Linked DNA regions of Homo sapiens: all the other regions are linked to region 1. The links are contacts of gene promoters, found by promoter capture Hi-C in human tissues and cell types (Jung and others, 2019). All regions are on one chromosome and are shown on one strand. The core of a region is centred on a gene start or on the middle of the fragment in contact, and the rest is flanking DNA. Distances in the headings are between cores, read along the strand shown.

Region 1 (3,812 bases), core at 640-3,139:
AGAAAATATATTTGATACATACATTTATAAATATATGTGTATATAATACAGATAAAGAGAGTTTAGGTTTAGAAAGTAAAATAGAGGTTTTAACTACTTGGGAAAATAGAAATTAAAAACAACTGGATTACTATTTTGGAAAAATATAGTTGTGTCATCTGTGGTTATATTAGTCCAGGTGTTATCATGACAGTTAAGTGGGGAAAAAAAACTTGTCCTGCATCTATATCAATGATGCTATTACATCATATGAAAACTGAAATCTTTCAATTTTGAGAAGAATTAAAGTTAATAATTGCCTCTGGATCAGGAAGAGCTTCACTAGTTACCCAAGCAAGTGATGAGTTTAACAGTTTGGTGGATTTTGAAATTTTAATTTAACTTGAATTTTATGTGTCATACTCTATTATCCTTTTTCAAGAGAAAACAGAATGCTATTATTCACAGCCTTGTTTTTTAACACAGAAAAATAAAAAAAGGAAAAATGCTTCAAATTTCACTTGACTTGCAAGACTAAAACTTCACAAACTAAAATGACAAATGTATGATTTGTAAAATACAGTTACAATTAGGTTTTTTTTTTCATAACAATCTGTGGTGAAATGTAACGGGAAAGCAGACACTTATTTTAAAGATGCAATTTTAAAAATAAAATTCAAAACTTAGGAAATAGAAAAGCACTCAAGTTTTAGCAGGGATTTTAAAATGTCATCTACAAACTACAAATACAGGTAATCAGTGACACCAAATAAAGTATTTTGAAAGAGTTAAGGTAATGTATATTTCAAAAAGCCGTTACCAGGCTTTCTGTAAGTCCCTTGCAAGAATTCCACTTTAAGCATTGTAGTCTCAAATATTATATCAGGCAAACCTAGGCATTTGCTATATTCTTTTTAAAAATTTAATGGCAGACATCACCCTAGGTTCCCTAACGTTTAAGGAGAACCTCTCCTTCTAATGATTCTCTCACACAGCTTATTGGAACAGGAGATTGTATTTACTAACTAGATCAGGAAATCTCAAACCATACAGAGGAAATCAGAAACCGGTCACTCACGGCTACCACAGTGACTGCTTCTGAGTGTGGTTCAAGCTCAGTCCAGGACAGGCAGATGAAAGGACAATCTTAAAGGTGACTCTGGAGAGCAAGTGAGACTGTAACCCCAAAACTTTCTAGGATAATTCATTTTCACTTCTACCCAGTCAAAACAACTATTGACATCATCACTGAAGTGCTTAAGTCTACCTGGAGGTGGCGTGGAGCAGAGTGAGCATTCCAGAGTCCCAGACAAGAGGAGATGTGCACGAAACACTATCTTCCTGTCAGACACCTGTGCCCACTGCCCCAAGCACTGCCCCTCTGGTCCTTCATCAGCCTTTGCGCTGTGTCCCTCCTGCTCCTGCAATGGGCCACAGCACAGAAGGAAAGAGTCCTCCGGAATGGGTGACTGTATAGAAAGCAATCGAATCTTTAATCACTTTTCCTACTTTACACTTCACGCAGTTCTTATTCCTATCCCTGCTTCATGCCTTTCCAAGAGAATGTTAGAGGCCTCTTTCAATTTTCATTTCTCAGTCTTTTCCCCATCCCGTTCAGTACCCTAAACTTCGTCAGTTATTTAAAATAACCTTTTACCCCCTCCTCCCCTTCCCAGGATGTTTCAACTTCTCTGGCTCTCTTCCCCATCCTTACCTCCTCCAATTCTTTCATCCTGGTCCTGGCCTCTTAAACCCGCCAGGGGCTGCCCTTTGCCTGTCTTTTCTCCTCCCATCCCTCTCTGAACCCTTTCACCTCATCCATTCCCTTGTCAGGCTCTCCAGATTCCCGGGCTGTTTGCTGGTGAGAAATCTTTGCTGCAGCGAGGACCGGAGTCCCCCGCGCGCAGCCCAGTGGCAGAAGAGGGCTAGGCTGAGAGGGAAGCCAGGACTGTAGGAGAGGGAGGCAGCCCGTCCTCCTCACGAACCTGCAAGGATGCGGCAGGGGCCTGGGGGCATGGGGAGGTACTAACCCCCCGGAGCCCCCGATTGGGGCTTGCAGACCTGGCCCGTGGGCGGATTTTCTGCCTAGCGCAGCCGAGAAGCAGAGGTGCCAGGAAAACCAAGAGAGGGGCGCTGGGGGTGCCCATCCCCAGAGTCGGTCCCTCTGCGAACCGAGGAAGAAAAGAGGAGGGAGTCAGCGAGTGGTCAGAAGGGAAAACCTGACACCAGACTGGCTCCGGAGCGTCCGGGAGACTGGGGCGCTCCGGTGAGCACCCAGGGGGTGAAGCCAGCCGAGCGGTGGGCGAGGGGCGTGCGGAGGGAGTGCGCGCTCGAGGAGGGGACGCCAGGAGGGCAGCGATGCTCCGGGCTGGTGCAGGCTTGCTGGGGGATGTCGGCTGATGCGAGCTGGAGAGCGCGTGTGGCGGCCGCGGCGCCAGTGTTTGTGTGTATGTGAGAAAGCAAGGGGCGAGCGCGAGTGCGAGTGAGGCAAAGATAGAGCGCATGTCTCATCCCTGCGAGCAGCCACTAGACGCTCCACCACCATCTTTTGCATGTGCAACATTTGCAGCCGGACAGAAAACCTCTCCCAGGGCTATGGAGACTGCGGGAAAAATCTGGCGGCTCGCGATGGATTGCTAAGGAGAACTAGTCATAATCTTAAACCACCGAAACCTCTTTCCTTTTTTTTCTTTCTTTTCTTTCTTTTCTTTTTTTTTTTTTTTTTTTGGTTGATTTTAATTTTAGCGCCATCGTCTTCAATGCTTCTCTGAACAGCCTTTAGGAAGAGTGCGAGAGAAAGAGAGAGAGCGCGCGCCAGGGAGAGGAGAAAAGAAGATGAGGATTATTTCCAGACAGATTGTCTTGTTATTTTCTGGATTTTGGGGACTCGCCATGGGAGCCTTTCCGAGCAGCGTGCAAATAGGTAAGGTGTGCTCCGATGGGGTGTGCATGTGGCTGGTTGTAGCAGATATCCGAAAGTGAGTTAAATGAGTTGCTGATAAGCAATTCAGGGAAACCTTCAGCAGTTCCCTTCCCCTCTGTTTCCCTCCTCTTCCTTTCTCTCCTTTGCAAAAAGACTTCCTCTTTAGTGCAGGTTCCGTTGGAATACACCCAGGGCAGCCCACCCATGCGTTCTCAGCCCATAGCCCTATTTCCACCTTTACCTATAGTCGCTTAAGTAGGATTGAAATAAGTTGGGGGAAAGTCTTCGGGGAATTTGGTTGTATTTTATATGATATTTATTTCCATCCCTTTCTCTAAAGCATAAAGTGATGTCGAGTTTGTTTAAAAAAGAAAAAAAAAATCCACTTCTTCCCATTCTGGACGCCGCAGCTTTCTTGCTATTACAGAAAGACACTGTTTGAGGAAAAAGACATTTCCACCCGCACGCCCTGCCGTTTCTTGCTACCAGTTAGCAGATTCCAAAGTTAGATCCCTTTCCTGGAAGCTTCTCCCCTTTTATTTTGTTTTCTTCTTGAAGCTTTTGCCCTTATTTCTCTACCTCGACTCTGTTTCCAGGGACACCCTCCATCCTTGGCTTTTCTTGCTATTCTCCTCTACTGTCTTTTAATGGGACGCAGCTATTGAATTTCTTCCAGCTAAGCCCAGCCTCAACACTGCATCATTTCTCGTGGACTGTGCATAAAACGGAGTTAATTAGGCTGAGTCCACGAGCTGGAGGAAAATAAAGTTCATTTCTTCTTTCTGATTTCCCTCTTCCCTGTGTGGCACTATATCCCTTCATTTCCGTATTTTAATGTAAATCTCTTTTCCGCTCATCTGCATGCATCTTAGAGAGAGCTGCCCTGAGGTGGCTGATGTAGCAGTGTGCT
Region 2 (3,812 bases), core at 723-3,222, 260 kb after region 1:
AGTCCAAAAAATTTTTGAAGTTGTAGCTATTCAATGTATATGAAATTTTTAAATGGTTAGTTACAGAATCCAAGAAAAATCTTTCTTCTTTCTTAAGCAATACAGCCACTTTACCTCCGACTCCCATTTCCCTCCCTCCCACTCCTGCCCCTGTATTGAGAGTTTGAGTTGTTTGACCTGAACAACTGAAGCTTTGTAAATAACTCACGATGAATCCCACAGAGCAGCCAATTCTAAGAACTGCCTGGATTGCCAAGTTCCTGTCAGAGGGTGAGTAAGGCTCAGAAAGACCCTCCACTTAGCACCTGTGCTTAAAAGACCAAGTCTGGAGGAGGCAATTGAGTGCCTAAAGCACACTGACCCATTTCAGAGGCTTAGCTGGTTTCTAAGAAGAAAATTGGCACACCTGGGTGCTTTGGATAAACTCTGAATAAGCCGTAAATGAGCTCCTGCTAAAGAAACTGGACATCTTATATATTTTTTGTCATATTAAAGAAATTAGAAAACTTGAGTGTCTACCTTTTCTATTCTTCTTGCCAAATTCTAAAAGGTTTCTTTTCTATCATGGTTGCATGGTAATAATAATAATAATAGTAAGAGAACTTTGTCCATTTAAAATGCCTCTCAGGTATAAATCTCATAAATTGCAATAAAGTCTACTGCATTGTGAGAAAATAATGTACTCTTAATTGTCCTATAAAATTTTCCTCCAAGAAAAGCTGTGTTTTTATTCTGAACATGCTGTTGTTGTTGTTTACTATCTGTATTTTAATTCCTTGTAGCTCTAAATGAAACAACTTTCAATGTTTTCTTGGTTTTACTCTTGGCTCTTCCACAAGAGCTAATCCATACTTTGTCAGGGGTTTGTACGTGTATCTTAAGACCCCTGTGTTTCAACATCCTTTTTCATAAATTAAGATAGCAAAAGAAAACAATTTCAAAAAACCAACCAAAGCATTTTTAAAAGGTAAAAAGTTAAATGCTAAATAATCTTGATTAGAAAAATGCCTTTGAAAAGGTGGACTTTTCTCAGAAGATGGTGAAATTAATACAATGATGATAAAGTTCTAGAAGGATGGACACACTTCATATTAGTAAATTTCTATGGCCGGGCATGGTGGCTCACGCCTGTAATCCCAGCACTTTGGGAGGCCGAGGCAGGTGGATCACCTGAGGTCGGGAGTTCGAGACCAGCCTGACAAACATGGAGAATCCCTGTCTCTACTAAAAATAAAAAATTAGCCGGGTGTGGTGGCACATGCCTGTAATCCCAGCTACTCGGGAGGCTGAGGCAGGAGAATCACTTAAACCCAGGAGGTGGAGGTTGTGGTGAGCCGAGATCGTGCCATTACACTCCAGCCTGGGCAACAACAGTGAAACTCCATCTCAAAAAAAAAAATTTCTAGAAGGATGGGCACATTTCATATTATGGTAGCATGCCATCAATAATTACTTCATTGACATCTTAATTTGTATCAATTTGCAAAAACATAATAGAAATAGTTCAGACAATATTCTCTCAAAATATGTTAATGGAAAACTGTGGTTATAGAAGCATTTCATCTTCTATACATGTTTTCCAAATTATTTTATGACATGAACTAATTCGTTCTTATAAATGTATTGCTATTTAATATAGTAGCTAGACATATACTCATTCAAGCATTTCAAAATATGAGTTTAAGATCAAGTATTTGAAAATATGGTTTAATGTACACCATAAGAAAAAATGGAAGAATGTATGTAAATATCACCCACTGAGTCATTTAAGAGAGTAGAAACATATTGAAACCACAAAGTTAGATTTATTTTGTTCATATCAACACCAATCAAACAAATTGGAATTTTGGCTCTCTAAATCCAATGAGCAATTTGGTCCACTCATTTGCAGAAACAAGCCTTGAAAAGAAATCTAAAATGAGAAGTATTTTTAAGTGTTTGCTGAATTTGTGATGAATTTTTTATAGAATATTTTTACTTAAATTGCTATGAGTTTGAAAGATATTATAAATATCATTGTGGACCCTAGCTTTATTCCTTTCACCTAATTTTCTTCCTATAACAAAAATATCAATTATTTTGTAGAACAGCTTGCAATAGCTTCATGTAGCTGGAATCAAAAGAACCGTTTCATATCAAAATAAGAGATTTATAGTGGGAGTCTTTTATTTATGATTTTTACATGTATCTATTAATTTTAAATTCTGAACTCTATTACTTGCAAAGAGTCCCTATGGATTCTACCTAATAACGTTATCAATTGAACATTGAAGTGTCAGACTTTGGTTCACATGTTTAACCTAGTAGCAAAAAAGCAACAACAAATCTTATCTTAACTCTTTTTCTGGTAGCCAAAGTAATTGAGCAAAATGGCACTTAAGGCTAGTGGTTGCTCACACATTTTACTCCACTGTGATAAAAACCCAAGGGTCCAGCAGCTAGATTTGTGTGTTCCTGTTAGTGAAACCCTATTCCCATGAACTCCCAACTCTGATCCTCTGGAACAGAATTATCCCAATGGGTAGTTGGATGGTCTGCACTCATCTACCTCTTTCTTTGGTCAGTTACATTATATCTCCCAAATTATGATGGTTCCAACAAAATGAAAATGAGTGTTTTCATTCTCTGAGAGATGGATAAGAAATCTTTAGTTGTTTATTTTTAAAACGTAAATGGAATCACTAACCACCTATGATTCTTCTCGTTCTCACTTTAAATAAGGACAGTTGAGCTGAGATGATCTTGAAAATCCTTGCTGTCTCTAAAAGTCAATAATGCTGTTTGCAGTGAAGTCTTTTTGATGATTTGTTTTATCCTAAAGCAATGTATAATTGTATGCATGGGATATACCTTGAAAAGAAGCGTGTATTAATAGTAAAACTTCAGTCAGGTGACCTTTTCTGGATATTTATTCATTCTACAAACATTTGTTAAGTCCCCACTGTGTTGTGTGTGTGTGTTTGTGTGTGTGTGTGTGTGACACTGCATATGCAGTGTGTGTATACATATATAATACACATACATATATATACACACATACATATATACGCATATGTGTGTGTGTGTGTGTATATATATATATATATATATATATATATATATTCAGGTACTATGCTCTGCTGAAGATACAGTGCTAAGCAAAACCGATACATTTTCTGCTATGGTTAGTAACTCCTGTCTGGTTAACTAAGGTTTAAACCAAAAGTATTTCCTAAAATCCTACTAAAATATATGATTTCTTTTAGAAATACATTATGTAGAAAGTGATAAAGGATCTTACACTGCCTTGGGGGTTTTGCTATGGATGCCAGTTATTATTAAATAGATGAGATATCAAAGGCATTTGATAGAAAACTAGAACAATATTGATCCTAGTACACATCATGGATGTATTTAAGGAATCTAACCAAGTATTTATCAGGAAAAGATAGTAAGGACTGACCTTAGAGTATGAAGTAGGTATTTAACAAAAGAATGGAGAAAAATGTCTCTACAGTTGACTCACAGGTATCTTAAACTGCTTCTTTATCATGTACCCCAGATTTAATTGGAACCCCTTTCAGCAGTATTGCCACTTTCATTATATGAAAGGGAATTTAGTGTCCCATCAGACACAGTGTGAATCTCGGATTACTGACAAAACCAGTGACCTTCCCACACTGTTTGCAAATCAATCAAAAAAGCCTAAAAGCCACGGCTGACCTCTCAGAGGCTTACTGTGACCAAAAGAAGCCAATAATCCTACCTCAGGGCAAGATCAATGAGAAAGAGAGGAAAATTTCTCAAACCTAAATGAGGCCATTTGCACATAA
Region 3 (3,812 bases), core at 821-3,320, 210 kb after region 1:
GTGGGAGTTTCTCTACTCTCTGAGGGGTGATAGGCACATGAAACGCTCCTGGGTAGGGGGTAAGGGTAGATAAAATTGCATGAAAAGTCTTACTTTATAACATGTATACATTATCACACATTATTATATTTAAATCTCTCAGCAACACAATGAAATAAATAGGTATTACTATTATCTCTGATATGCATTGAACTGTGTTCATCTAAAAAATGATATGTTGAAATTCTCACCCTCATTACCTCAGAACATGAACTTATTTGGATGTAGAGTCATTGAAGATGTAATTAGTTAAGATGAAGCCATCCTGGAGCAGGGTGGGCCTCTAACCCAGTGTGACTAGTATCCTTATAAGAAGATGGTTATGTGAAGATGGAGATACACAGGAAGAACACCATGTCACCACAAAGGCAGAGGTTGAAGTTATACTACTCCAAGCCAAAAAATGACAAAGATTGCGGGAAAACCACCAGAAACTAGGAAGAGGCAGGGCAAGAGTACCCTCCAAGCTTCAGAGGGAGCATGGCCCTTCAGAGGGAGCAGACTTCAGACTTCTAGCCCCTACAATTGTGATACAATAAATTTATGTTGTTTTAAACTACCCAATCTGTGGCACTTTGTTTCCACATCCCTAGGAAACTGAAATAATCCTCTTTTCACAGATAAGGAAACTCAGGCCTAGAGAGTAAGATCACACAACTAGTAGGTAAAGGAAACCATTTTTGCATTCAAAGCACAACTTTTTCTATTGAGACATCTTGTCTCTTTCCATCATTCCTTTGCACACTGTTCACTCCAGCCGTGCTCTTCATAACCCTTCCTCAAACATGCCAGTCATGGACCCTCTTTATCTTTGGTCATAGGGAAAAAATATATATTTATTTGTCGGCTCCCCCATGCCAGGCATCTCACTGGGCAGTTTTCATATGCAATGTTCTCTCAGTCTTGCATATGAAATGAATTTTCTGCCATTTTTCCTACATGAAAATCCTCATTCTTCAACTGCCAAGTGAAATTCTCCAAATCCATCAAGCTTTCCATCTATGTTGTCAGAATTATTTTTTTTCTGTTTATTTCCATTGATCTCTAATTATTTATTATTCCATTTATCTCTAATTTTTGTTTGTAGGTGATTCATAGTCTATAGCATTCTGTCAATTTCACTGAATTTTAAGATCTTTAGAGACAGGGTCAGAAATGTAATAGCCCTTTAAGGAACAACAGACAAAGTCACTAAAATTTTTACTTAGACTCCACAATCTGAAATGTAGCTTTTCCTGATTTACATATGCCATATGCAATCTTTGTCTTATTTTCCAAACCAAAAATTGGTCAGCAGGCTGTTAAGAACAGAAGAGCGAAAACTTCCCTGATGGTATATGAGGCCTGAACGTTTATTAGTTTTTGTTATTGTTTTTGTGTTTAAATTGGTTCTCTATTTACTGTACCATTGACCTCTCTTCCTCACTCTCATACCTTCTGTTCAATTTGAAATTTCACTGAATGTTTAGACATCCAAAACTGAGAGCTCACTCAGTTTCAACACTCAATAAAAAGGTGAGATAAAAGCTTAAATTTTCATAAAGTAAAAGTCAAAATTTGTACTTTAGAACATGGTTTCAGAAAATAATAACAACAATATAGGAAAACAAAGGAAAATCAAAATCTGAATGATTTAGTTAAAATTGTATTGAAGCAATTTGATTTTGGCAATATTGTTCCCTCTGAAGAAATTGTAGGAGGGGGTATTAGGTCGTTCTTGCATTGCTATAAAGAAATAACTGAAACTGGGTGATTTATAAAGAAAAGATGTTTAATTGGCTCATGGTTCTACAGGCTGTACAGGAAGCATAGTCCTGGCATCTGCTTGGCTTCTGATGAGGCTTAAGGAAGCTTATAATCACGGTGGAAGGCAAAGGGAGAGCCGGTGTCTCACATGGCAGAAGCAGGAGCAAGAGAGAGAGGGCGGGGGAGGAAATGCCACATTTTACAACCACCAGATCATGTGAGAACTCACTTATTTCAAAGACAGCACCCAGCCATGAGGGATCCACCCCCATGACTCAAACACCTCCCACCAGACCCCACCTCCAATAGTAAGGATTACAATTCAACGTGAGATTTGGGCAGGGATAAATATCCAAAGTATATCAGAGACTCTTCATAATTTGAATTCTGTAAATTTCATTTCTTGTTCATAATTTTCCCATAAAATTTATGCTAAAAAAATTCTTAATACCCACACACACTTAACACATTATGCCAGTAACTGGCACAAACCATGACTTATCATATTAAGCCGAGTCAGGCTGATCTCACTGCTGCTTCGAGGTACCCATAAAATGCAGCAGAACTACTGCACATTGCAGGTGAGCTAGACTCTGCTGCGCTCGCCACGCAGGTTCCCAGAACCGGGAAAATCCTTTTGCTGTAGAACAATTTGCGTTACAAAGAGATGCTAATACCTAAAGCATAAGTGTAACTGAAATGCTTAGCTTTAAGCCAGGCTGTGCCTTTGTAGACGTAGGGTTATTTAAACTCCTGTAGCATCTTTCTTCAGAGTAATGAGGAACTTGACAAATAATATAAATATAATTTCATGACTGGCATGCAATAATAATCAAGATAAAGTTTAAATGCCAGGCAAAAGACATATAGCTAGGAGTGCTGCCCAATGCCTACCCCAGAGGAAATCAGAGTGGCTCTTTGAGTAAAAGAATGTGAAGTTTCTTTTACTCAAGACCTTTCTGTTTTCTTTCAGTTTGATTTAACAGAATTATGAGGGGGGAAAAATGAGAGGAAGTCAGACACACACTATAAATGTTTATACTTATGCAGGTCAGTGTCACCAAGTAGGTTGCAAAGTCTTAGGAGGGAAATTTGTTCTCATTACCTTTACATGTCTGTAACACTTAGCATAATGTCTGGCATAATGTCTGAGCAATGGTAGGGTGCTCAGGGAATGCAATGATTTTTCAACCCAAATTTTCCTTTTACCATATTTGTTCATGTGCTTCTTCAATTATATGTTCATGTAATTTTACTTAAATTTTGTTTTGCTTTGGTAATTGAGTAATTAAAACAAAGTATGGTGAATTGGAGTTTAATTATCCTTGTGGTATGTTTTAATATCTTCTTAACATAATAATAGTATAATGCCAGTTAAGAAAGTGAAACCATCTGGAAAAAGAAGATGGGGTTAATATGTCACAAAAGTATATAATAAAAATTGATTTTCTTATGGGAGTGTATAATATTTGCAAGGCAATTATTTGCAAGGACTGAGTAGAGTGTAAATGTTGAGTAAATGTATTTTTGGTTATTACTCTTTCTGCTGTCTTTAATACAATTGATGCTTCTGAACATTTCTTCTTCTATCATGTTGTAAGTACTGAGTTCTTTTCAGTATGTATTTATAGCCTCTTCCAATGTTTTCTGCTATTTTAGAATGATAGTGGTACCAGGCAATATATTAACTCTCTTAGTTCAATCCCATTTCATATTTCCCCATTAATCTTGTTCAGGATTTCTGTCAGGATCTTCTCAAATGCATTGTGATAAAGCAGGATTCATATCACTGCTTACAAAACTTCATTTGGAATCACAATATTTGTTGGCAGATTCATGTATGTCTCCCAGTGGATTTAACCAGAGCTAGTTCTGACTTATGGAACACAGCTTGAATTACAGAAGCCACTATTTACAGACCGAAGAGGTGGATTTCTTTTTTTTCTTCTCTTGTCATAAACATCCAATTTCTTCTACAAGAACAGGCAAGAATTCTGCGGTTAGGTTCTTGTGGAAAAAAACATAAG
Region 4 (3,812 bases), core at 565-3,064, 200 kb before region 1:
TAAAGTATATAAATTTGGGCATCACCAGCACAAAGACACTAGTTAAAGCCCTGTCTGGGTAAATCACCAGGAAAGTAATCACAGGAAAGAGTAGAAGTCCAATGCCCAGGCACTCCAGATTTTACAGCTCTGGCTAAATTAGGAGAAGAGTCTATAACGAAATGGTCAGTAGTGTAGAGGAAAACAGAGAATGGTGCCCTGAATATCAGGTAAAATAAATCACTGGAGAAAGAAAAAGTGATGAAGGGCTTGCTGATCAAATACCTTGAGGATTGGAAATTGACTATTGTCATAAGCAATTTGCAGGTTATTTGTTACCTTGACAATACTGGTTTCTGTAGGGGGATGGAGATGAAATCTGATTCAAATAGTTTCACAAATAAACGTGAGGAGAGGAAAAGGAGTATAGACACTCTCTCAAGGAATTTTGCTTTATGTAACAAATTACAATGTCATCAGTAGAAACCATGCCTTTCCCTGTGGGGGAAAAAGAGAAACAATTAAAACAGCAGCCTCTATTGATGGAGGCTTCTGGTTCTTAAGAAAAGGACAGCTCTCAAAGAAAAAACAGCAGCCATTCATACTGTAAATTCTTGGAAGACAGTGGAAACAACTAGAATAATACTTGGGAAATAATACTTTTCTTTAAAAATGAAGAATGTTATCTATCTGTAAATTTCAATTCATTCATATTGACACCAGATAGTCTTAGAATAATTCATTCCTTTACCTTCCTGAAAAACTGTCTGCCTTTTCCTCTGAGACTTCTATGATACTTCATTTTTTCTTCTAAAATGATGTGTGTTGTCATTGTTTTTTTTACTGTAGATGGACATTAAACTACAAGGAGATTGAGGTATTGACTGCCTTGGCCATTGTGATACACCTAATATCAGATGGTTAAGGTACAATTTTCACCTATAATGCTAACCAAATGAACAAATTAAATCAATTCATCTTCCAAATGCTTTGTATACTTCTTGCCTATATTTTTCTCTTTAGAGAATCTATGACTGTATTATGGTCTTTCTTCACAACTGGACAAGCTCACATCTCACAGCAGGGAGTCAGGTTTTGTGCCATCAGGACTTAGATATATTTTGTGCAATTACTAAATATTTAAGTACTTAAGAGATTATTGGTCATCATTTAATTATCAGGAAGCTTCTCTCATTTTTGTTGTCATGTTTTGTTTTGTTTTGTCTTTTAATTTTTCTAAATGGGTAAGGAGAACCAATCCTAAGTAACTAATAATAATAGTAACAATGAGAAAAAGTACTCGTTGCATAATCTGAAAAAAAACTTTTTTTCTGCACATATGAAATAAGCACCATTGTCAAGATAATTGTTTCTTAACCGTCTGTCATTCAGAAACAATTACAAAATCTATGCATTGAAGTACAAATTCATAGTTAAGGTGTAATTTGTTATCTTTACTCCCAAATATGCAAATGTTTACCAGATATTAAAAACTAAGCAGCTATATGTGGTTATTAATCAGAAATGACTCTGGAAATTATAGTGGTAAAGTGATCTAAATAACTAGACCTTGATAGTTTAGAAACAATTAATTTGATAATTATAATCACTTAGTTGGATGAATGATGTAGCACTTCAATCAGCTATCAGCAAGCAAAGATTTTGAAGGCTGAAAGAATGAGTTAGTTGGATTTTTATTAATTCAGTCATTATAAACTATTACCAGGATGTGCTTAAAGCAAATTGTTGTTGTTGTTGTTGTCAACATATGGTTATTTCATATAATTTATTTATATAATCTATTTTATAAAATGCAACATCTAAATATTCAACATCTGTCAGGCCATGTATTACAGGATTTGTCAACTTTTTTTCTAGATACAGAATATAAAATTTGGTTTTAGTATATACACTGCTCAGCTTTTCACAAGTCAACATTTTATCTCTCTTGATATTTAAGGTTTTTTTGCCAAGTACTATGGACTGTTGCATCCTTGAAGTACCATAATGAGACTAAATGGCTTCTCTTTATTTTTATTATTATTATTATTATTATACTTTAAGTTCTAGGGTACATGTGCACAATGTGCAGGTTTGTTACATATGTATACATGTGCCATGTTGGTGTGCTGCAGCCATTAACTCGTTATTTAGCATTAGGTAAATGGCTTCTCTTTAGCGTTCTCCTATAAGTCATCTGAATGAGAATGGATCAATGTTGAGACAGTCATACTTTCCCTTTGAATGCTTAGGCTTAATTCTCTAAAAACTTGTATCCGTTTAAAGCAAGGTTAGAATCAAGCCCCTATAACACCAAGATGAGGTAAAAATAACTACTGTAAGTATTTAAATGTTTCCTTCCAGAAACAGAGGGCAAGAGCCCCCCTTCATGCCCTTCAGAGAGACTGATTAACAAAGATAAATCATTGGCTTTGCTAATATTGGATTTCAATTTATTAAATAAACAGTATCACAGTCAGAGGCTTTCACAAGAAAATGTACAGGGCAATAGGAAAAAGTGAGTCAGTTGATCTGACCCATGCAAGTTTATGAAATATGTGACTATATGAAATAAATAAAAATGAAAAAGTAAAATATAAAACGTGTGTAGGCTTAGTGATGGGGGGTTACTAATACCAATTATTAGATAAATTTTTCCAAATAATTGTTTTTCTGAAGTTGAACATATCTATGCAATTGTTTTCTCTCAATTTTCATAGAACAAATTGATATTGTATGATCTTAATTTTTTCAAGGAACAAAAAATTGAAGTTGAAGAAAATATTTTCTTCTTACAAAGGATATTGCTTTACCATTGAAGTAGAGAGATGCCTGACTTCTAGATATTTTATGCTTGACCAAGTCCTTTAAATGAAATGAAAAGATTAAAAAACAGGAATATTATAAATCAGCCTTTTATTGAAATCAAACCCATGGTCAAACAAATGTTCAATAAAATTAAAATATACCTAGAGCCCAGAGATGTAGGTGAGGAGCAAATTTCAATCTATGATGCACTTGTTCTTGTACTCAAATTTTAATAATTCCCTTTATACATTAGCTTCAAAGGCTAGGGAATAAATTGTATACCCATTTCAAAATTGGGACTAAATTGGGAAGTCAGTAAGGCAGACTAAATGTGAAATTAACCTCTTCAAAAATAAGTTGGTGACTAACCCCAAGGGGAATAATGCCCACTTTTTATTCAATATATCCTAAATGGGACTGGAGAGAGAAAGTTAAGGAGAATTACAGATGTCAAGAGACCTTGAATTGGGTAGTAAACATGATGGAAAATGTGATCAAATTTTAGTCCAGCTTAGTGTGTCAGAATTTGGACTAGATTTTCTATAGGATCTCTATGCATGAGCAAATGAATGATAGAATCAATGGTTTATGCCGGTGTATAGACCTAAACTTTCCTTATCAACAACACATCTGCAAGACCGATGTGTAACAAAGTCTATGGTTCAGACTGTAGACTGCAGAATATTTTTTTTTCAAAATCTGTTTCTTTACGTTAACTATTTGGGTTTATGTCTTAACATCTCTGAGCTTCACTTCCTTAATAATAATACCTACCTTACAATGTTGTGAGGATTGAGAAAAATGTATGGAAATCACCTCACATAATGCTTGGCATATATTAAATCCACAGTCCAAATGCCTATTATTCTTATCACAAGGAGAGAAGGAGGGGCTATACTAAAAACAATTTCAGAGCAAAGGATTGAAGTAGCTTGCCGGTCACCGAGGTGGTGAGGAGTGTTCAGCAAACACCATGTTGCTGCACAGACTGGAGATCTTGTGATACACATTATCCATTTTGGTCT
Region 5 (3,812 bases), core at 913-3,412, 190 kb after region 1:
ATGCATTCTGAATGAATAAGAAGTCAAATATTTATTCCTAAATCATCTTCTTCATTTATTTCCATAGTAAGCAAACTGTCCAATCTCGTTTTAGTTTTGCAGCATGCAAGACTCATCTAAGCCACTAATTTACTTCTGCTACATTAAAAATTTTAATTTTAAAAATAACTTTAAGATTCATTCTAAGATATAAATAAATAAATTAACAAGGTTTTCTTCCATGAATGAGCTTCTTAATATTAGCCTAGAATCATAAAACACATTTAAAATATAGGATAGGTGCTTTTTAGGAGATAGATATTATACAGGAAGTCAACTCAGAACCTAAATCAATTAACATAAAGTATAAATTAACTAAATACAGCATGGTATTAACAGTAACATAAATCTAACTTTCCTAGTAATTTATCACAATAGAAACATTAAATCCTAATAAAATTGAGCTATTTTGTTCAGGAAAACCCAGAATAACAACCTTAGAGAATGAAATTAGGAATAAACTAAGGATTTGGAAAACACAAAATCTTATTTCTTAAAACTCAGAGAGAAAAAAGGAAGAAACTGTATTTAAATGTATCTACCTGTTGAAATATTTAAATATTTAATATTTAAAATGATGAATCAATTTAAGTATGTGTGAAAAATACAGAAAAATTAGATTGTGATATTGAATGTTAAGCCTCAATAAACTTCAGGACAACAAATATTGAAAAACATGCAGGAAATTAGGATTATAAGAATGTAGGTTTTATTTTAATAAAGATTAGAAGTAGAGAGAAAAATGAACATTTTAACAGAAAAAATAGAAAGTAATATGTTTATCTGAAATAATTACTTTCTGAATAAAAAAGTGCCAAATAAACTTTGAAGAAATTCAGAAATATCTCTAACTTCAGAGCATAAGTGAGTTCCATTAAAGTTAGAGACATAATTTTTTATTTCAACTATGTTATTTTTAATGAGAAAAATCTTCCAATTGAAAACTTTGAGTTAAAAATAATAGCCACTACCATTTACTACCATTTACTGTCTACAATGTACAAGTACTATGCTCATTGTTGGTGAGGTCAAACTAGGGAAAAAAACTGTAGAGAAGCTGAATTTGACTAAAAATAAGACAGGATTTTCTAACAATAAGTGTTATAATGAAAATGGAATTGAGTTCCTTGGTAGATATTGTGCTTCTGATCACTGAAGGTATTCAAGCAAAGATTTCATGATATCTAACTAAAATACTTTGTAATACCAAGAAGAGTATGACACCTAGAGATGAGTCACAAAGGAAAAGACATGAAGGATAGCAGTATCACAAAGCAAGGTTGAAGAAAAGGCCAGCATCTGGGATGCCAATTTGAGCAGGACATGGCAGTAATTACTGGAGATCCAAGTAAGGGGATGAGTTAACAAAGGGCTAAATTGGCAGGCAGCCTGACTGGGTCCAGATGGGCAGATGCGGCCACATCAAAGAGACTCATCAGTTTAGTCAGTGACCCAAAGCAAACTTATAAGCCCAGGGCATCTGAGTTCTAGAGGCTGGTGGTGAGAGAAGAGAGCAGAAGAACAGAAATTAGCCCAAAAGAGGCTGGAATTCAAGAACAAGATTTCATCTGCTGGTAGAACACCAAAAGCAGAGCCCGCCTGACAGTGCTGGACCAGGAGATGTTGAAACAGAGCTTCCTCTATGCATTCCTATTTAAGAACTGAATCAACCTCTCAGATTTAAAACCATCAGAAATAACTAAGTACTCACAATATGAAGATGAGTAGTTATACCTTGATAACAAATAAAATCCAAACACTTGATTAACCTCTTCAATGACCTAGCTGTCAAGATGTAGAAAGTATTAGTTAATTGAACTTTGGGCACAAAATGAAGAAAAGATTTTGAAATGCAACCAAGCTTAATATCAAAAAAGTAATTTATAACTATTAAACTTCTCAGTCTATTTTCTCACTTACTCAGCAATTTAGTGAATCTATTGAAAAGTTTTCTGGATATTGCTTACTATTCAGTTCAAAATTTTTACAAATAAAAATATTGAGTATTTCTTTAATGTTTGGCAAGATTTTTTTACAGGAATATAGAATACATCTCTTCCTAGGCTATATCCTACAAGGTAGTTAATTACAAAGATTATGTCATTGAAAAAAACAACATTTATTTTTTATTTGTTTATTTCAAAACATATTGTTATACTTTTAAAATTTACATTAGGTTTATTTCACTTACATTAAGAATATAAATATTATAGATATTATGTAATATTTTATACACATATGCACACATATATACTAAAATCTTACAATAGTGCTATTCAATATAGAATTTAATTAGGTATATCTTAAATTTATCTTTGACTTAAATCACAGTAACTAACATTTGAAATTTTTAGGCAAGACCTTTCAACTCAAAAGAAATGTGATCTACCAGGTCACAGGAAATATAGATATGTCTACTTGTCTTTTATTACATTAATATCTCCGTGTTAAAATGTGTATTGAGCCAAGCACACTGCTTGTATAAAAATCACTTATTTTTATACATCTAATGGGACTGTTTAATGGGACCTTTTCATTTACCATTTCTTAGACTGTTCTTATATATAGTATCTCTGTTAATAGTTACCAAATTCTTGCAGGAGGCAAGGGAGATATTAGTTCCATGTTAGAGAGAAGAAGACTGCAGCTCTGAGAATTTAGGTTATTTGCCACTATGAAATTTAGATATTCTCTTGGCTAATGATATATTGATGTTCACCTGTATAAATAAATATATCTTCAATGTGCATATATACATATAAAATTTTATATAGATGAGAGTCTCACAGGTTACATTAATGTGCTTCATAAGGTGGAACAAAAGTTATTAATTATACATATTAATGTGAAAATTACATTACACTAAAAAGTTAACTCTTTTAACTGTATTAAGGCATAACTGAAGTAATTAAATCAATAGGCTCTTCTGAGAAATATTTTAGATCAATGTTCATGAACAGATCAATAAATTGATGTGCTATTTCTATCATAATTCCATTTTTAATTAGTTAAGCAACACACATTGTATATCTTCCAGATAAAGAACACTTCATGAGCTCCTAATGATCCTTGCTTAGAACCTCAAAAATGTAGGAAAGGTGGCCGAGTTCTCAAAGTAAGCTTCTGATATAGTTGGTAAATTGAATAGATAGGTGATTCTGATTGGTGCTATACCAAAAAAAAAAAAAAAAAAGAGAGAGAGAGAGAGAGAAGAGCCATGATTACTAGTATCTTGGAGGTTACAGTTGAGACTAGCTCTCACTTTTACATTTGACCTTTCTTAGATTTGAAAAAAAACAAAAGGTAAATTTGAAGAGGAGAAGAATGAGGAATTTGGGCATAGAAAATTAACAGACCTGTTCATTTGCTATATATGATTGGAATTTTATTGTAGGATGCATTATTACCTACTTATGCTTGATGCTGCATTTATTTAACATGCAGATTGGTAATCTAGTGGCTCTCATTTATATTACAAACAGAAAATGTTAACATCCTAATTGATAGATTTACATGATATGACATTTCATCATAGTTTTTCTTAGCCTTTGAGGCATATAAACCTGATTATTAAAGACATGTTATGATGTAAAGCTGTCTTTTTGTTTTCCGTAATAAATAAGTGTAACTTCATGAACATCAAATGTTCTTGCTTCCAATTTATTAAAACACACAAACACACATGCACACACACACACACACACACACGCACTAGACCACTGGACCATCCTCAGGAAATGACACATATGACACATCTCCATGTTAAAGGAAAA
Region 6 (3,812 bases), core at 651-3,150, 180 kb before region 1:
CAGCTAATAGAAGCTAAAGTGTAAATTAATGTTTAAAAGGCCATTTAATTTATGGGTTGAGGATCTGCATGATGAACTCTTGATTTTTTTCCTACCAACATTTGTTTTGGGAGAAAGCCAGAAACCTGTACAAATAATACTGAATGTGAAGAGTAAAAATTAGAGATGGTTTCAGGAAGCATTCCTCAGAAAACTTTTAATAACAAATGTATTTTAGGTTCTGATAATTCAAAATCATGACCGTCAGGAGCTAGACAGGCTATATCTGTATGACTGTACTAGGGAGTGCTGGTTGAGTATCAGCCAAAATTCATGTTTTCAAGTCCATAGATAGGAAGCAATCAACCTAATGACCAAGAAGAATCTACCATACAGAGGAGGCTTAAATCAGACCAAGCTTGTACATAGACACACTATAGACAGATGTGACAGAGGACCTCCACTTTTTCCCCACTTATTCAGCCTTGCCTTTTATTTTCCTAACAGAAGGACATCTTAAACCACTTGGCATGTCTTGCAAAAATGTTTCATCTCTCCAAAGGGAAAATTCCCCTTACATACTAGAAAACTATTACTCCATAATATATCAAAGAAGAAGAAAAAAACTGTTATGATGTGTACGTATTAGAAACTTTGAGAGATGGCAATGCAATTAAAGATTTGTGGTTTCCAAGAAATTATGCAAACTAAAGAATCTGAATGTGGTGAATCCGAATCTTCCCCACTTTAGATCAACCCCTGGAAAAAATTTATCTACTGGAAATGAGAAATAGACTAGCTTATGTCTCCCAAGCCTCACCTAAGAAAATATAGGATTAAAAAAGGACATATTCTTTTGGCATAAAGTACAAAAGACATGTCAGCAGAGGTCGTAAATCTTTATATAAAACTAGAAATAGAGTTACTGATAGGGAATAAACTCTCTTGGTTGAAGACATCTTTTTTTTTAAATACTCTAGCTCAAAAATTATATTTATATACATATTAGTCTGTCTTCATGCTGCTATAAAGAACAGCCTGAGACTGGGTAATTTATAAAGGAAAGATGTTTAATTGACACAATTCAACAAGGCTCAGGAGGCCTCAGGAAGCTTATAATCATGGCAGAAGGTGAAGCGGAAGCAAGGCACTTTCTTCACAGGTGGCAGGAAGCACTGAGTGAAGGGGGAGGAACCCTTTATAAAACCATCAGATCTCGTGAGAACTCACTATCAAGAGAACAGCATGGAGGAAACCACTCCTATGATTTAATTACTTCTACTTGGTCTCTCCCTTGACATGTGGGGATTATGGGGATTATGGGGATTACAATTCAAGATGAGATTTGGGTGAGGACACAAAGGCTAACCGTATCAACATAATACATATCTTTTGAAATTGTTTATAATTAACAAATTGAAAATACAGACAATAGACTTAAAAATACATTTCCAACAGAAATGTGTGACTACATGTTCACATAAAGATATCAATAGTGTATGTACAACAACTGTGAACAATTGACCAGAAAAAATACTTTACAAGATTAGGCAATAAACAACTTTGGAGGATAAAGCAAGGTTTGTGTTCATTAGTAACCAATAAACTACAAATAAACAGCAATAAAATAAGAGATGACCATGAACTCTGTGAACTCTTTGTGATGGGAATCTTCCTGCAGAGTTGGTTCAAATTGGTTCAAGCTTTTGGTGATGCAATTTGGCAATATATCTGAATTGTTATGTATGTTATTTCCTTCAGTCTCAAAGTTCATCTATTAGCACCCCAACTCGGAAAACTAAAAATTGAGCACATTAGCTAGCAATATTTGACTGGAGTCTTTAGTTAATAGTATTGCATTACTGTTTATTTCCTGGTTTTGATATTGGCACTGTGGTTATATACAATGTTACATACAATTAGAGAAAGCTGGATGAAGGGCATAAGGGAATTCTCTGTATAATATTTCCAATTTTTCTGCAAGTCTAATTATTCCAAAATAAAAAGTTAAAAAATAACAAAACAAAATATTAGAACAAGAAAGTTAAAAAAAAAACACATGGCAAATCAATGTAGATACAGATTCTGTTCCTTAAATACTAAACTTTATTGCTAATACAATAAAATATGGACAGAGGCAAAATCATCCTTATTTGCAGACAAATTTCTCCCTATAAAGACAAAGATAACCGAAATTTTGTTATAATTGAAAGGAGAAGGTCTAGATGTAAAATGAACAACCCACATCAAGAGCTTTCTTGTACACCAGTAATAAATTGGAGGATTATGAGAAAAGATCTGATTCACATTGGAAACAGATTAAAATGTCTATGAATAACCTTAACAAGAAATTTTGAGTGCACATCTTTATACAGTGGGCATTCCATATCTGCAGGTTTCACATCTGTGGAGTCAACCAACCACAGATCAAAAATGTCCAAAAAAGAATAAAAAATAACAGTACAACAGTAAAACATAAGACAAACTTAAAAATACAGTATAACAACTATTTACATAGCATGTACATTGTATTAGCTATTTCAGTAATCTAAAAATGATGTAAAGCCCAGTATGTGAGAGGATGTGCATAGATTATATGCACATACTACACCATTTTATACAAAGGTCTTGGACATCTGCAAATTTTATCAGGGTCCAAGAACCAGTCCCCTAGGGAAAACTATACTGGCCTCAATATTTTGTCTTTCTTTTATTTTGTGGAAGAGTTTGTGTAATAACAGCATAAATTCTTCAAAAATTGGTAGAAATATTTAGTGAAATAATCTGAGCCTAAAGATTTTTAGTTGTTTGTTTTATTTTTGTTTTTGCTTTTTACGTGAGCGAAGTTTTCTGACTATACATTCAATTTATTTAACGTCTATAGGAATATCTATAATCTATTTTATCTTGGTTCAAATTTTGGGCATTTGTAATTTTAAGGAATCAGTTCATTTATCCTAAGTTGTTGAATTTATAAGCTTCAATTCGTTCATAGTATTCCCTTATTAGCCTCTTTCAATTGCACTGGAATTTATAGTGATAAACCTGTGTAATTGAAGGGATAATAATTTGTGTTATTTATCTTTATTTTTTGCAGTCTTGCCAGAGGTCTATCCATTTTATCGAATTTTTTAAATAACCAGCCTTTAGTTTTATGAATTTTATTGGTGGTTTTTCTGTTTTCAATCTTATTGACTTATGTTTTTATCTTTATTTTTTCCTTCCTTGTGATTTTTCCAGGTTTACTTTGATCTTCTTTACTATTCTATGAAGTAGGAACATACATTGTTAATTTGAGGTCTTTTTTTTTTTCCTAGTGTAAGCTAGTAATTTGTAAGCAATAAATAGATGCCTCTCACACTGTTTAGTTGGAGCCCAAATATTTTGATATGTGGTCATATATTTCATTTAGTTCTATGTTTTTTAAAAAATTATTTGATATGTGAATTATTTGGACGTGTATTGTTTAATTTCTATATGTGTTGAGATTTTCATTTGTCTTTATGCTATTCTCATTTCATTCCATTATGGTGACAGAATATGCTGAGTTAGGTCAACTTAAAAAATTTTTTTTCAAATTTTTTTTATGGCTGAGGATATGGTCTGAGTAAATGTTTCATGAGCACTTGAAAACAGTGTATTCTGCTCTCATTGGTTGAGTGTTGTTTGAGTGTTTAGGTCAGTTAGATCCTGTTGATTGACTGGTTATTCAGATCATTTATATCCTTGATGATTGTCTGTTTGCTTTATACATGTTTAGGATTACTTTGTTTTCTGAGTGGATTGAGTCTTTCATCATTATGCAATATTCCTTGGTTTCTAGTAATTTTCTT
Region 7 (3,812 bases), core at 560-3,059, 180 kb after region 1:
TAGTTGACATTTCAAAATACATTGGATATTTTTCACTCACAGACAGTATTAAAACATTTTATGAACTACACTTTTCAAAAAATGACAGACCTTGAAATAAAAAGAGATAAAACAGATTCTGGATGTTATTTGTGTGTGTGTGTGTGTGTGTGTGTGTGTGTGTGTGTGTGTGTATGTGTATGAGTAAAAATCTTATCAGTTTGTCATAATTGAGGCTGAAAGTTCAAGAGACAGAATTATTTTAAGAAAATGCACCAGCACCTAGCTTCACAATACCCAGTGATGTAAAGCTGCATTGAAACAGATGAATCACTTGAGTATAGATTTAAATGTAACCGAATTATTAGACCAGAATAGACTTGTTTGTAAGCCTATTTGGATTTATATCCTGACTTTGCTTCCTCTACATATGTAGCTGGCCTTGGATTGCTGAATCTCCTTGTAGCTTAGCCTCACAAGTAAATGGAGACAATAATAGTACTTTCCTGACATGGTTGTTTTTGGAAGATTAATAAAACCCACCTGTGAAAAATGCTTAGAACAGTACCTGGGTCACTACCAACACTGTGAAGGTTATAGTTGTCTTAAGACTAATAAGTATTATTGACTTTATCCTAGAAATGTGCAGAAATATGTATTCCTATATTGTTTTTGCAAATTAATTGCAATACAATTTAGTGGCCTTATAACCAGAATCAATTTGGGAGACTTTCAAAAGCAGTTTCTGTAAATCCCTCATCATTTCTGTAATTTACATACAGATTTGATCAATAGTGAATATTCACAATTCACTTTTGTTAATAAAATATTTAATTCAATATTCATCCTTGAAAGGAGCATTTCATTATTATAACTGCCGTGAGTGCAGGAGTCTGGCCTTTCTCATCTTTGAAACCCTGGTAGACAGCAGAGTGCTGGGTCCCTGTGGGCCACTCAGCCAGTATGTGCTGCGTGAATGAGAGGTATTTAGCAAATAGCAGATTTTCAGTAAATAATGAATGGGCTTGGGCTCTTTTGTACAAGCCATCTTTTCTACTTTACCCTAATAAACTATCAATTTTGCACAAGTATGCAAATTTAAAATTTTACAAGTCTTTTTTGCATTCAAAGTTCTAAACCTACTATCCTCCTTAATTAAGCATTTTGTGGGCATAAATAAGATGTGTTGTAAGAAAGGGACCTGTTAAAGCAAAACATAACCCTTTTGCAAAGAAAAAAATATTTTTTAAAAAGGTCAACATCACTTATTGGAAAGAGTACAGCCATGATTTGTAAATTAGAGATTCTGATTCAGTGGATATAGGATAAGGCCCAGGAATCTGCAGTCTTAGGCATCCTACGTGATTCCAAATACCAGGGTTTGGGAAACACTGAGGTAGCAATAATAAAATCTACCATGTATTAAGCCCATGCAGCGTTCCAGCTACTGTTTATATGCTATATATAAATTAACTAATTTAATCCTCCAAAACACACTTGTGCCGGATTTCAAACCCAGGCAGTCTGCCTCCACAACCTAGGTTCTTGCTGGTGCATACTATACGTTATTGGGGCTCAGATAATCAGAGACATAAACTAGTCTCTCTGAACTTCAATTTCTTCATTTGCAAATTCAAAATTTATTTATTTAGGGTGAAAAATAAATGAGGTACAATCCATCAATACCATATTGAAAGTGTTTTGCACGTATATATAAATATGCATATATTGATAATTGCTATTAGATTGATCAATTAGATCAATCTGAGAGACAATATATTTTATTTCTATTAAATGAGGAATAAGCAAGGCATTACAAAAAAGAACAGAATGAAAAATGGTAAATAAATAGAACACCAGTTAAGATTTATTTAGATGATTGCTATAAAGTACCAATGGGCATCAATTGTTTCTTGGAAAATCATCACGATCAAACATTTCTGAAGCATGAACCAGGCAGATGTTGATGTACCTTAAACTTTTAGTGTTTTCCAAACCATGGTCCTTCCCATGGGAACTGACATTATAAATCAAGTGATGTTTATATCTTTAAGGTTATATGAACATTAAAAGTTACTTGTATTATATTTGATATTGGATAGACGACATTTCTAAACTGATATTATCTGCTTTTTACTCTGGTACTAAAATCAGGTAACTAAAACAAAAGGAAATGGTGGCAAACTCTTGGTTTAATCTGTATAAATTGTCGATAATATCAATTGACTAAGAAAAAAGTATTCATGCCTAGAATGAAATATCTGCTATTAGGCTGGGGGTGGTGACTCACACCTGTAATCCCAGAACTTTGGGAGGTCAAGGAGGGTGGATCACTGAGGCCAGGAGTTCAAGACCAGCCTGGACAACACAGTGAAACCCCGTCTCTACCAAAAAATACAAAAATTAGCTGGGCATGGTGGCCACACCTGTAGTCCCAGCTACTTGGGAAGCTGAGGCAGGGGAATCGCTTGACCCCGGGAGGTGGAGGTGGCAGTGAGCCGAGATCGAGCCACTACATTCCAGCCTGGGCGACACAGTGAGACCCTTTCTCAAAAAAAAAAAAAAAAAAAAAGGAAAGAAAAAGGAAGTATCTGCTATTGACCAGCAATTTATGACAATGTTTTGTAAAATATCTATGCCCACATTATGACTCTTAAGATCACATTACCGAGTTGAATCTTCTATTCAAGAGGATTATCTCAAGTCATAATGAAAGTGCGGCAATAAATTGTTTCTTTTAGGTTTATTACAACAAATTTCAACTGGATCATTTGAACAATGTAGATGTTTACATCTCAGTGTACTATTGATTTGTGGAACATTTAGCTTTCTTATTCTTGAATTTCTCCTTGTGTGAGTTCTTTAGTTGAAAGATGACACACTAAACAGTATCCAAGACTGAAGTATAATCATTTATTCATTTAACCTAAAATTTTCATGTGTTGATGTTATATTATGTACTATGCTAGGTTCCGGGAATTAAAAGATAAATATTACATAGTACATAACCTAGTCTTTCCCTTCTAATTCAGTGGAGGGAAAAATCTTTCCCCCAGAAAGGTTTTTTATTAAACGTGTATGTGTGGTATTTTTGTTTTTTGGGTTTTTTGCTTCTTTGTAAGGTAAGCTTAAAAGCGATTTTGCTATTACTCTGCAGGAGAAGCTCCGTTAGAATCTTTAATTTACAAAACAGTGGTTTTAATTGAACCACTAGCAATTATACTGTGAATTAGACTGCAAACATGCTATTATAATGCATCTTGGACTTTCAGAAAACAGAATTGGACTCCCATAAGCAAAGAGAGAAATCTCCTTCAGTGAGGAGGTAAACAGAAAGCTATCAGAGCCAACACTCACCCCCATGGAGACAGGCATTGTTCTCTGACTCTCCCAGCTTCTCCTCAGAAAGAGCTGAAAAGCACTCTTTCTTAGTGTACATTTTAAACTTTACGGTGATTTCCATCCCTGCCATTCTGGTGAAAGGAACAGAGAGACTATAACCTGGTAGGCCAAGCCAAAGACAACTAATTGAGCACTGATCTCTGTTCCAGTTCAGAAGTGTTCCAAATTCATTTTTCTGTGTATAAAGAAGTCTAAAGGCATTTAACTCTATGACAAACTCATATTCAAATTAATTAATAAATTATTATATAAACCTTTATAATGTAAATTTGAGCAATAGTGATTATTTTTCCCCAATCAATTAAAGTACATAAGGCCCTACTGTTTAGGTAAAGGCTGTGTTAGACCCTCTGAAGCATACAGAAAACGTAAGATACTGTTATAAGTCAGAGAATTTAAAGAAATCCAAGACAGGGGAAACATTTTGTAAT

Evidence for each region. Contacts are between HindIII fragments. The study calls those that stand out against the background at their distance.
Region 2: a fragment that was not itself captured here is called in contact with the fragment with the promoter of GRIA4 in region 1 in 3 of the 25 tissues and cell types used here (dorsolateral prefrontal cortex, hippocampus and lymphoblastoid cells).
Region 3: a contact is called between a fragment that was not itself captured here and the fragment with the promoter of GRIA4 in region 1, in 5 of the 25 tissues and cell types used here (H1 embryonic stem cells, dorsolateral prefrontal cortex, hippocampus and 2 more).
Region 4: a fragment that was not itself captured here is called in contact with the fragment with the promoter of GRIA4 in region 1 in 4 of the 25 tissues and cell types used here (adrenal gland, hippocampus, liver and 1 more).
Region 5: a contact is called between a fragment that was not itself captured here and the fragment with the promoter of GRIA4 in region 1, in 3 of the 25 tissues and cell types used here (dorsolateral prefrontal cortex, heart right ventricle and mesendoderm cells).
Region 6: a fragment that was not itself captured here is called in contact with the fragment with the promoter of GRIA4 in region 1 in 4 of the 25 tissues and cell types used here (H1 embryonic stem cells, bladder, hippocampus and 1 more).
Region 7: a fragment that was not itself captured here is called in contact with the fragment with the promoter of GRIA4 in region 1 in 4 of the 25 tissues and cell types used here (dorsolateral prefrontal cortex, heart right ventricle, hippocampus and 1 more).

What each region holds. Positions count from the first base shown.
Region 1 is chr11:105,608,184-105,611,995 of GRCh38, forward strand. It overlaps GRIA4 (glutamate ionotropic receptor AMPA type subunit 4), which reads left to right and starts at 1,890. Exons shown (of 17, transcript NM_000829.4): 1 at 1,890-2,245; 2 at 2,725-2,902. The coding sequence starts at 2,815. RefSeq lists a silencer at 2,866-3,066. The HindIII fragment of the contact is 8,669 bases long and covers 1-3,812 here.
Region 2 is chr11:105,863,483-105,867,294 of GRCh38, forward strand. The region is part of intron 5 of GRIA4 (glutamate ionotropic receptor AMPA type subunit 4); the gene reads left to right. Among named protein-coding and RNA genes, the nearest start is that of MSANTD4, 160 kb to the right of the region's middle. The HindIII fragment of the contact is 6,672 bases long and covers 1-3,812 here.
Region 3 is chr11:105,819,586-105,823,397 of GRCh38, forward strand. The region is part of intron 4 of GRIA4 (glutamate ionotropic receptor AMPA type subunit 4); the gene reads left to right. Among named protein-coding and RNA genes, the nearest start is that of MSANTD4, 200 kb to the right of the region's middle. The HindIII fragment of the contact is 4,619 bases long and covers 1-3,812 here.
Region 4 is chr11:105,407,575-105,411,386 of GRCh38, forward strand. All of the region lies in intron 2 of LOC105369468 (a long non-coding RNA gene), which reads right to left. Among named protein-coding and RNA genes, the nearest start is that of GRIA4, 200 kb to the right of the region's middle. The HindIII fragment of the contact is 8,590 bases long and covers 1-3,812 here.
Region 5 is chr11:105,800,631-105,804,442 of GRCh38, forward strand. The region is part of intron 4 of GRIA4 (glutamate ionotropic receptor AMPA type subunit 4); the gene reads left to right. Among named protein-coding and RNA genes, the nearest start is that of GRIA4, 190 kb to the left of the region's middle. The HindIII fragment of the contact is 4,289 bases long and covers 19-3,812 here.
Region 6 is chr11:105,432,626-105,436,437 of GRCh38, forward strand. The region is part of intron 2 of LOC105369468 (a long non-coding RNA gene); the gene reads right to left. Among named protein-coding and RNA genes, the nearest start is that of GRIA4, 180 kb to the right of the region's middle. The HindIII fragment of the contact is 3,577 bases long and covers 113-3,689 here.
Region 7 is chr11:105,783,615-105,787,426 of GRCh38, forward strand. The region is part of intron 4 of GRIA4 (glutamate ionotropic receptor AMPA type subunit 4); the gene reads left to right. Among named protein-coding and RNA genes, the nearest start is that of GRIA4, 180 kb to the left of the region's middle. The HindIII fragment of the contact is 5,237 bases long and covers 1-3,812 here.